Linked DNA regions of Homo sapiens: regions 1, 3 and 4 are each linked to region 2. The links are contacts of gene promoters, found by promoter capture Hi-C in blood cells and fetal thymus (Javierre and others, 2016). All regions are on one chromosome and are shown on one strand. Each heading gives the region's core, a stretch centred on a gene start or on the middle of the fragment in contact. The rest is flanking DNA. Distances are from core to core; before and after follow the strand shown. Region 1 overlaps PDP1 (pyruvate dehydrogenase phosphatase catalytic subunit 1). Region 2 holds the start of RAD54B (RAD54 homolog B). Region 3 overlaps CFAP418-AS1 (CFAP418 antisense RNA 1). Region 4 overlaps CFAP418 (cilia and flagella associated protein 418).

Region 1 (2,700 bases), core at 81-2,580, 560 kb after region 2:
GAACATCAACAGAGCAGATGCTATCTAAGGCTCTTCTAGGATTCATGCCTTTATGCTTATGGAAGTGAGGTTTTTAAATAAAATTCAGGTTTCATTTATTCACTGTTGAATTCTACCGTGCCCTTCATGATTAAAAAAAAAAAAAAAGTTTAAGTATTGCAGTAGCTCTAAAGCTTTGTTAGTAACATAAATGGTTTCAGTCCTAGAACTTAATTTACCTACTAACAATGTTCCCTGCTTAGCAGCTATAAGGAAAACCCATAGAAGTATTTTCATCTACTATGGATCCAAAGTAGAATTAACCCCTAGAAAAATGTTTTCTTGGATATGGTAATCACTCTGATTTGATCATTACACAATGTCTACCAATATATACATGCACTGAAACATCACATTGTACCCCATAAATATATAATATTATGTGTCAATTGTAAATTAAAAATAAATTTTAAAAGACCAAAAATGTTTTCTCTCACATTAAAAAAAAAAAAAAAAGGTATTTACTTGCTCCAGGGAAGCAGTATAGTCAAATAATAGTCTAAGGTTTGGATTGAAAAGGTACAGCAATATAATTACAAACTTAAAAAAAATCCTATCACTCACTATGTGCGCTGAAAATAATTTCTGGGCATTTATTTGGGAAATTTAATGAATATATCATTAATCTAGATAATTTGGGCAAGAAAAAAAATCCCTCTTCTTCCTCAATAACATATATTTTCCCTGAATTCTTGAGATACTGCTTCAAAATAGTCATTTGTACTATAAAGAAACACTTTGGAAATACTTTAAATAAACAAATGCAATAAACAAAAAGGAACACAGAAAATAAAACCATCTGAGTTAATAGCAACTATTCCTTCCCACGGCTAAACAAATATCATAGCATGTGTCAGCCATATATTATTTTCATGTACCTTTTTTGAAGAATAATTTGAGAAAAAGTAATAAATTGGGGTAGAGGGAAGCAAAGAAAACTAAACACTGAATAATCACTGATTCTTGTTTGTTTCTGTAATAAGCACTGCATAAGCCAGCCACACAGATTCTCTTCTGCAAGTAGTAGAAAGTACCATCATTTTAACTGCACTATCTAAGAAGGGATTTGTTTACGAAAATGAAGACAAGATCAGGCAATAGAAAGTAATGGCTAAAATTTTGGAAATAAGAATCCGTAACTAAAAAAGCATTCTGAAATGCACTAATGAAAAACAGAAATTCCAGAAAAACGGGAATCCATCAGGAGTAACCATTTAAATAAAAGAAATTCAAACTGAATACCTGAAAGTCATCCAGAGGTTAAGTGTACATGACTGAGCCAGAAGATGTGCTCAAATGTTGGGCCACATGACAGTGGCTTCCATACTTAAACCATATCTCTTTTTAGGTTTGCGTGCAGAAAGCATATCAACTCATTTTGTGCTTTGAATAAAGGTTTTCTATCATTAAAAATGTAAACTAATGTAATCTTAATGAATTTTTCTTCATAATTTTATGACTGCATTTGCTCTTTCTTTAAAACTTAAGAATCTTACAGAAAAAAACAATGAAAATGTGCCTGTATGGAACGTAAACTGACTCAAAATACTATTTGTGTGGGGGGGAGGGAGGGTTGATAGATGCATAACAGGGTTTGATTGTTTAATTAAGGAATAACAAGTCCTGGAAACCTGCACTTTCCTTAAATTCCTTTGCTTCGACATTTTTTTGCCGGGGGGGGGGAGGGAGGGCAGCGGGGGGAGGAATTTTGCTCTTGTTGCCCAGGCTGAAGTGCAATGGCGTGATCTCAGCTCATCGCAACCTCCGCCTCCCTGGTTCAAGCGATTCTCCTGCCCGGCTAATTCTGTATTTTCAGTAGAGATGGGGTTTCACCATGTTGGTCAGGTTGGTCTCGAACTCCTGACCTCAGGCCATCCACCCGCCTCAGCCTCCCAAAGTGCTGGGATTACAGGCATGAGCCACTGCACCCGGCTTGGTATGACATCTTTTCTACTTTTGTAATTGACTGCAAAATGAATGAAATCTAGTGACAAAAAGCAATGATTGACACAGCAGGTGCTTTTAACAATACTTACGTTCAAACATCAAATTCTCCACTACATTTTTCCTTCAAGGCAAAAATTCTTGAGATTAAAAACAAAAAATGAGAGAGTGAATTTTATTGACTCTATCTTTCAGTTATGCAGAGGCTTAGTACATGGACTGAGATTATATCCTAATGCCCCAACTTCCAACATGCCTTCAAAAGACAAAATTCCTAGGGAAGTTGGAATTTATGAAAACTGTGCTGTAATTAATGAGCGTTCTATCCGCATCGGTACAAGTGATACATTCTCTCCATCAGATCAGATACCCTTGGGAGTCAAAGTACTTTCAAATGCTTTCATAAATAAGTAAGCAATGAAAAACTCTTAATATCCTTCAGATTATCCACTGATTCAACAACAAGAAAACACTCTACATCATAACTTTTGCTGACAAGCTTGTTAAATTAGTGTAGAAGGCTCTTGATCAGGCAATAAGAACAGCATCCAGGTACAACTGTTGGTAAAACAGAGCAGTGTCAAATTTGCAAGTTATTCTTGATCACAATTTTCACGGAAAATTTCCTATTCCATGATCTAGACTCAGCCACGTTGTATGTAGCATCTTCATCCCAGGCAGATTGGGCTGATTTTGCCAATGACTAATAAAGAAAGA
Region 2 (2,700 bases), core at 110-2,609:
AGTGAAGGATCAAACCAGATGCAAATCTGCAAGAGGAATGTCCCAGGTCACCTTTAGCCAATCTGTTTTAGATTTTCTGAACTCCCCAGATGATATTAAGGTAGGCTGCAGACACTATGAAGCTAGCTTGTTTTCTGGTTACCCTTACTCTTTATGTGTCCCAGTCCAAAGAAGAGGGGGGTGCGGTTTACTAAGGTGCCCAACCTTGGCAGGTCCCCATTTCAAATTCTTGTAACGCTGGCTCCAGGAGCTGCCAAAAGCACAACTCAACCTATGAGGTGCTCTTTATGACTGGAAAAAGTCCCCAGGATAAAAGCTCCTTAAGCACATTACTCTTTTTTTTTGAAACAGGGTCTCTCTGCTGCCCAGGCTGGAGTGCTGCGGCACCATCTCGGTTCATTGCAGCCTTCACCTCCCAGGTTCAAGCGATTCTCCCGCCTTAGTCTGCTGAGTAGCTGGGATTACAGGCGCGCTCCACCAAAACCAGCTAATTTTTGTATTTTTAGTACAGACCGGGTTTCACCATGTTGGCCAGGCTGGTCTCGAACTCCTGACCTCAAGTGATCCGCCCGCCTCGGCCTCCCAAAGTACTGGGATTACAGGCACAAGCCACCGCTCTCAGCCTCAAATTACTCTTTTAAATGGCTGTACCTATTTACACTCCTACCAGCAGCCCAAGAGTTCCCATTGTTTCACATCTTCATTTCACCCTTGATATTTTTTAGCTTTTACTTTTTGTCAAACTGCTGGATAAAACTCAATAAACAACCTTTAGCCATTCTCTCTCCTTTCAGATTAGCCTTTCTAATACCATTTTTCAGGGATAGTTGACTGTGTTACCGCCTAGCACTTAGAAGGTGCTCAGTAAATACTCATTGAATGATGTAACTTTCCTACTTAACATGCTTTAATGCTTTTCCAAGTCCGGAGGCGGCTCCCCTTTTCTGAGAGCCTAATAATCACGTATTCGTTTCTATATTCCCAGAACCTAACAAAGAGTTTGAAAATTATCCTGCAGGCACCGCTAAGTCAATGTTTTTTCGGATGAATGAATAACCAATAGGATATCGTATACTTCTGCGATGCACGCATTTCTATTATCGCACACACCGAATCATACCGTATTTATTACTTATCCACGCAGATGGTGAGGTCTGTAGCCTCGGCATCTACACTGTGTCTGAAAGTAGGCACTAAACCAGTATTTTTTTAATTGAACCGTAAACTTGAATCAAACTTGGAAGCATTTAAAGCCAAACGCAAAGATACATGCGCAGTGATGCAGTAGGGTCGTCCAATCAGAGTAGGGCAGGACAGGGCAGTGCAGCGGCTAGGTAGTGCGCACGCGCGGCGGGCTCGTCCGCGATTGGCTTCGCCGAGGCGGGATCCTTGAGCTTCTCCGGCGGCGAGGGGATAGCTGGTTACCAGAAGGACTTCTTTGCAGGGCCAGTGGTTTCTGTCAGATTTTCGCCGGTGCGTCCTGCAGGGGGAAGCTCGGGAGGCTGCGACAGCCTGTAGGCTCGTGCGGGACAAAGCAGGGAGTGGCGCCGGAGCAGGCCAACGAGGGAGGAGGGAGGGAAGGCGGCAGGAGCGACCGAAGTGGCCTTCTGCGGGCCTGCAGCTTTGGTCTGAAGTGCCAGGGACGCCCTGGTTGCTGGCCCCGGGGGCCTTGGAGCGAAGGGCGGGCGGTGGGGGTTTAGGGTTGTGCGTTTGTGTGGGAGGGATGGTTCTGGGCAGTGGCCCCTGGGGCCGCCACTGCGGTCGCTTTGCGCAGGCTCCTCTTGGCTTTTGGGTCTCTCCCTCACTCCTGCACTGGGAATTTCCTTCCCCAGGGCCAGGGGGTGAAGGCTCTGCGAGCGTCCTGGAGAGTGTCGGTACGCCTTCTTTAGGGGCTTTTACCTCTTCACTGGTCAGGTTTTTCTTGTATTTCCTTAAAACCTTTTAATCGATTACCTTATGGAAGATTTTCTAGGTAGGAACAGATGCTTCTCGACTTACTACGGGGTTGAAAATATCCCAAATGGAAAATGGATTTAAAACACAGCTAACCTACTGAGTATTAAAGCTTGGCCTAGCCTACTTTTGTTATCAAAAAAATTATTTTCAGCTGTTTATTTTAGATTTGGGGGTACATGTGCAGGTTTGTTGCATCGGTATATTACGTGGTGCTGAGGTTTGGATACGATTGATCCTGTCACCCAGGTAGTGAGCATGTTACCCAATAGTTTTTGAACCCTTGCTCCTCCTTTCCTCTCCCTTCTAGTTGTCTCCACTGTCTATTGTTGCCATCTTTATGTTCATGAATGCCCAATGTTTAGCTCCCATTTATAAGTGAGAACATGCAATATTTGATTTTCTGTTTCTGCTTTAATTCGCTTTGGATAATAGCCTCCAGCTGCACCCATGTTGCTGCAAAGGACATGATTTCATTCCTTTTTATGGCTGCGCTAGCCTACCTTAAACATGCTCAGAACACTTACCTTAATCTACAGTTGGGCAAAATCATGAACACAGACGGTTGTGTGGTTACTTGTACAGTTTCTACTGAATGCTCATGGCTTTCTTAAAAGTCGAAGAATTCTAAGTGACACCGTCCTAAATTAGGAACCATCTATATAGCCGGAGTCTCAAAGGAGCAATTTAAGGCATGAAGTGAAATAATTACTACCTAATGTAGTTGGAAGTCGACAAGCAGCAACA
Region 3 (2,700 bases), core at 70-2,569, 800 kb before region 2:
ATGGATATACTAATATGTGAAACAGACCTTAAATCAAAAAACTTTACAAGAGACAAAGAATGATATTATATGTTAATAAAAAGTTAAAAACTGTAAGAACAGATAACAATATAAACATTTACACACCTAATAAAAGACCATCAAAATATATGAGGCAAAAACCAACAGAACTGAAGGGAGAAATAGATAGCTCTACAAGAATAGTTGGGCACTTCAATGCCCCACTTTCAATTGTGGATCAAACAACTATACAAAATATAAATAAGGAAATATAAGACTTAAAAAACACAATAAACCAACTAATAATAGATTTCATAGACATATACAGAACACTCTACCCATTGACAGCATCCACATTCTTCTCAAGTACATATAGGACATTTTCTAGGATTGGCCATATGTTAGGCTACAAATTAAGTCTCAATAGATTTTAAAAGATAGATATTATTCAAAGTATCTCCTTCAACCATAATAGAATAAAGTTAGAAATCAATACCGAAGTAACTGAAAATTTCACAAATTTTTGGAAATCAAACAACACACTCTTAAACAACCAACCAATGGATCAAAAAACAAATCACAAGGGAAATTAGAAAATACTTAGAGACTAATGAAAATGAAAACAACATACCAAAACATATAACACAGTGAAAGAAGTGCTAGGGGAGACATATATGGCTGTAAACACCTGCAGTAAAAAACAAGAAAGATCTCAAATCTACAACCTAAGTTTCAACTTAATGAACTAGAAAAAGAAGAGAAAACTAAACCCAAAACTAGCAAAAGGAAGGAAATAATAAAGATTGGAGCAAAGATAAGTGAAATAGAGAATAGAAAATCAAGAGAAAATCAATAAAATGTGAAGTTAGCTTTTTGAAAAGACAGACAAGATTGACAAAGCTTTAGCTAGACAGAACAAGAAAGAAAAGACAGAAGATTCAAATTACTAAAATCAGAAATAAAAGTGGGGACATTACTACCGATTCTACAGAAATAAAAAGGATTATAAGAGAGCACTATGAACAATTATATGCCAACAAATTGAATAGCCTAGAAGAAATGGAAAAATTCCTAGAAACACAAAACCTACCAAGACAAGATCATGAAGAAATAGAAAATCCGAACAGACCTATAAGTAGTAAGGAGATTGAATCAGTAATCCAAAATCTCCTGACAAAGAAAAGCCCTGCACTTGAGGGCTTCACTTGTGAATTCTACCAAACATTTAAAGGCAAACTAATACCAATTCTGCTCAAACCTTTCCAAAATATTGAAGAGGAGGAAACATTTCCTAACTTACGCTAGAAAGACCAAGGGACTTAAATAGCTTTCGGTTCTAAGAGTTTTAGTCATACTGTACTTAGAGCATGGATATTGATCTGGATTTCAGTCACAGGCCAGTGTGCAAATTCAGCACATGACTCCTTCCTTGAAATACAGACTTATAAACTTTTCCTGGCTGACTGAACTTGCTGGCCTTTTCCTTTACACTCATGTCTCTTTTCTGTGTATGTAGGATGGTTACTGGAAAATGTTAACAGTATACAGACACATGTTACACAAAACATGGCAATAAATGTAGAATAATGAAACTGGCAAGAGGATTACAAACTTATATGCAATAACAGACCTTGAACTGGAAAGATCCCCCAAACAAAAATTTAAGAATTAAGTTGTCTGGTTGAGAAAATTTGTCTGCCAAGTCCTCACAAGTAATTAGAAAATCAAATAAAGCTTATTCCTCTCCTAGTCTCAGTTTTGTTTTGTTTTAATGAGAAGGAGAGACAACAATAAGATAGATAATAAAGCATGTAAAATATAGTACAGCATGGTAAAATGAACATGAATTTTACAGTTAGACCCAGGTTATATGACCTTGGACTAATAACTTTACCTCTCTGTCCTTACTTCCTTTTTTTTTTTTTTTTTTTTGAGATAGGGTCTTGCTCTGTCACCCAGGCTGGAGTGTAGTGGCGCAATCTTGGCGCACTGCAACCTCAATCTCCTGGATTCAAGTGATCCTCCCACCTCGGCCTTCCTAGTAGCTGGGACCACAGGTACACGCCACCACACCCAGCAATTTTTGTATTTTTTTAGTAGAGACAGAGTTTCACCGTGTTGCTCGGACTGGTTTCCAACTCCTGAGCTCAAGTGATCTGGCAGCCTCAGCCTCCCAAAGTGCTGGGATTACAGGCATGAGCCACTATGCCTTTCTCTGTCCCTGTTTCCTGATCTACAGTGATTAAGTAAAATAAGTTCTATAAAGAGCTCAGAATAAGGTAGGTATGCAAAAAAATATGTTATACACATGATGATACTATAGCCAACACATCATTGCCAAGAGGCATGCAGAGACCTCGATACCAGGATGACAAGGAGATGGAAGCCATTCCAGTATGGCTCAAGCTAAAAGAACTGACCTGAGCTTGGGCTTATTTGTCCATCAGACTACATCACAGTATTTAAAGGCAAGCTTAATCTGATCCAGGCTGGCACTTATACCCAAGGGCCTAGAAATGGAGGCCTAGAAAGATATGACTGTGGAGATAGTCATAGTCAAGTGGTTAACAATTTGATTCCAGACAGACTCATTCATGTTAAAACATACCCTTGGCCAGGACCAAAAGAGATAAGGGGCTGATCCCCCAAAAACAGGGGTCAGCACAAGCCAGGAGTTTGTCAGGGCCCTTGTACTAGGCT
Region 4 (2,700 bases), core at 1-2,500, 790 kb before region 2:
TTTATTTGTAGTATCTAAGGACACTTTTCTAAAAGGCCAAAAACAAACAGCTTTCATTGTAGGAATGTGCTTAGCACCTCACATGCAATGCCATTGCTCTTATCCCATGAAGCAATGACTAAATTGTTAATATTTCAGTTTTTTAAATGTTTGTATGTCTATTTTAGCTGCATAAAAAGTTCAGAAAGTAATATAACAGCAACCTATATACTGAACATACCATGACAGCCACCCATATTAAACATATATTAATGTTTTGCCACATTTGCTTTACTGGACCTTTTTTTTTAAAAAGAAGTACAAATTAAAGATATAGTTTAAGACCTCTCTAAATCCTATTCTATTGCCTTCCTTCCCAAAGATAACCATTTATCCTTTCCATCCATACATTTATACTTTCATTACATATGTACATAACCATAAACAATTCTAACTGTGTACAGTAGTCCATTGTATAACTCTGCCACAGTTTATCCACTTCCCTGATGATGGACATTTAGATTGTGCTCAGTTGTTTGCTATTACAAATAGTGCTTCATCAGATACCTTTTTTTTAATCGGAGAAAAGGCATACAAATTTTGACATGTACACAGGGAAAACCAGTGATTACGCCTTCATTAGATATCTTTACATGGCTTCTTTTACCCATATACGGAAGTTTCTCTAGGGTGTATAAAGCTAGAAGAGGAATTCCTAGGTCATAAGGTGTGCTCATCTTCAACTTTTCTACCCATTGCCAAATTGTTTTCCAAAGTGACTTTATCACTTAACATTTTTCATACTGGGCAGTATATGAGAATTTATGTATTTTAATTTTTATCAGTATGGTGTGTGTCAAGCATTATCTGTTAGATTTAAAAGAAAGATACAAAAATAGAAGTCTAATTTACAAAGATCACAAAAAAATTTAAGAAATAACTATAGTACCAGGGTTTTGTTTTTTAAAGGATAGGGAAGATAAAAGCAAAACAGTGGACTGAAAATACCTAGGTAATGGTTGTGGTAAGAATATGGATAGGGACCACTTACATTTTTGTCACCCAGACTAAAAATCAAGTGACTAGTATAGATTTTAGAAAATTAAACTTTTTCAATTCACCTGAAGTAAATTAATAAGCACATGCCAAGTTGAATAATATGTAAACACAATAGCAATATTAAATACAGTCATTCCTTGGTATACTCAAGGGATTGGTTCCAGGACCCCCACATATACCAAAATCCATACATACTCAAGTTCCACAGTCAGCCTTACAGAACCCACCTTATGAAAAGTTGGCCCTCTGTACGTGGGGTTTCGCATGCCACAAATACTGTATTTTTGATCCTTGTTTGGTTGGAAAAATTCCACATATAAGTGGACTTGTGCAGTTGAAACGCATGTTGTTCAAGGGTCACCTGTACCCTGCAAATAGAATACTTCCTAAATACTGAGTAAGTGCATAAGCACTGAATAGTAATGCCAATTAGTAGTACTAATTAATGGTAGAAAAAAATTACATCATTTTGTTGCTCTTCATTAATCATCTGAGCAATTCATTGTTTATTAAGTACCAATAGGGTGCATATCTGTATATGAGGCGCTATCTTTTCAGTTAAGGTGTTTCAGAAGAAGATAAGTACTTCTCTGGTTTGGCTTTAAGATATACTAATTTGAAATAAAAGTAGCTCTTATAATCATGAAGAAGTAAATTTTTAATCATGATCTTTTCCTTTTTTAGTTATGTATTATGTCCAGTTTTCCAACCTTCAAAGGAGACAGCAGGTCTAAGTAAAACATTTATTGGGAAAAAAAAACATGTATTAACAAAAGAAACATAGATAAACAGATAGTCTATGCCAACGTTGTCATTAGAGGCTATATTATGCCCTGACAATACTACTCCCTTACCGCACCTCCTGCTCTCCCATTCTGTCGCATTTCTGAACTGTTCCCAGACCCACACAAGAAAGCCCAGGAACCAACAACAAACCTCAGAGTGTGCCAGCTTAGAGTCATAAGCCTGAGTCTGGATGGCACATGAAACATGCTCCCCAAACAGAAAGATTCGTGCATATTATTATTTTTCAAACATGTACCAAAATTTTTTCCATTTCTGCTTAACATCAAATAAGAGTTGAGAGACATAGTAAAACAATATTTTCGCCTCTATTAAATTTCCTCACCCACTATGTAAAATGAAGGCATGTCTCTGCATAGTTTAAATTGCCTTTTCTCCATCTCACTTCCTCTCCTTGGCGGTGGTCCTAGTGTGTGGTTGGTTTATGTTGTTTGGTACCATATACCAGTTAACACTTAATAAATGCTTGCTAATGATGATGATACTATGTAACCATATAGGAACTACTGTATGGTTGTGACTAGGTAGTTCTACATTTTCCTTGCACATTTATTGGTTGATGCCATTCCATTTGATCAAAATTAATATTCCTGAAGTTACACAGGAGCTTGGTTAATTTTAATTCATATGACGCACATTCACAGCCTTTAAAAATGAGTCTGAGGTTTTTTTCCTCCTCAATTGAATTTTTCTAGAATGAAGTTTTAAATAGCAGGTCCTTCATATTAAATCATTGAACTGTAATATTAACTGAAGAGTTATAAAGTGACTCTAAATCTTAGCATGCTAATAATGGCAATATATCAGTTTCCTAGCCTAAAAGTTAGTAGAGTAATTTGCACATTCCTTAGGGAGTTC

What was found. Contacts are between HindIII fragments. The CHiCAGO score rates a contact against its expected background, and 5 or more counts as called.
Region 1: a fragment that was not itself captured here is called in contact with the fragment with the promoter of RAD54B in region 2 in 3 of 17 cell types (activated CD4 T cells, fetal thymus and total CD4 T cells); the score reaches 5.9 in activated CD4 T cells.
Region 3: a fragment that was not itself captured here is called in contact with the fragment with the promoter of RAD54B in region 2 in 1 of 17 cell types (monocytes); the score reaches 5.3 in monocytes.
Region 4: a contact is called between a fragment that was not itself captured here and the fragment with the promoter of RAD54B in region 2, in 1 of 17 cell types (monocytes). The highest score is 7.1, in monocytes.

What each region holds. Positions count from the first base shown.
Region 1 is chr8:93,918,519-93,921,218 of GRCh38, reverse strand. The region is part of intron 1 of PDP1 (pyruvate dehydrogenase phosphatase catalytic subunit 1); the gene reads right to left. Among named protein-coding and RNA genes, the nearest start is that of PDP1, 2.9 kb to the right of the region's middle. The HindIII fragment of the contact is 2,309 bases long and covers 176-2,484 here.
Region 2 is chr8:94,473,774-94,476,473 of GRCh38, reverse strand. RAD54B (RAD54 homolog B) reads left to right here and starts at 1,359. Exons shown (of 15, transcript NM_012415.3): 1 at 1,359-1,473. RefSeq lists an enhancer at 1,397-1,626. The HindIII fragment of the contact is 4,488 bases long and covers 1-2,067 here.
Region 3 is chr8:95,277,431-95,280,130 of GRCh38, reverse strand. All of the region lies in intron 1 of CFAP418-AS1 (CFAP418 antisense RNA 1), which reads right to left. Among named protein-coding and RNA genes, the nearest start is that of TRS-AGA2-5, 9.0 kb to the right of the region's middle. The HindIII fragment of the contact is 834 bases long and covers 903-1,736 here.
Region 4 is chr8:95,260,714-95,263,413 of GRCh38, reverse strand. All of the region lies in intron 2 of CFAP418 (cilia and flagella associated protein 418), which reads left to right. Among named protein-coding and RNA genes, the nearest start is that of CFAP418-AS1, 6.8 kb to the left of the region's middle. The HindIII fragment of the contact is 7,469 bases long and covers 1-2,700 here.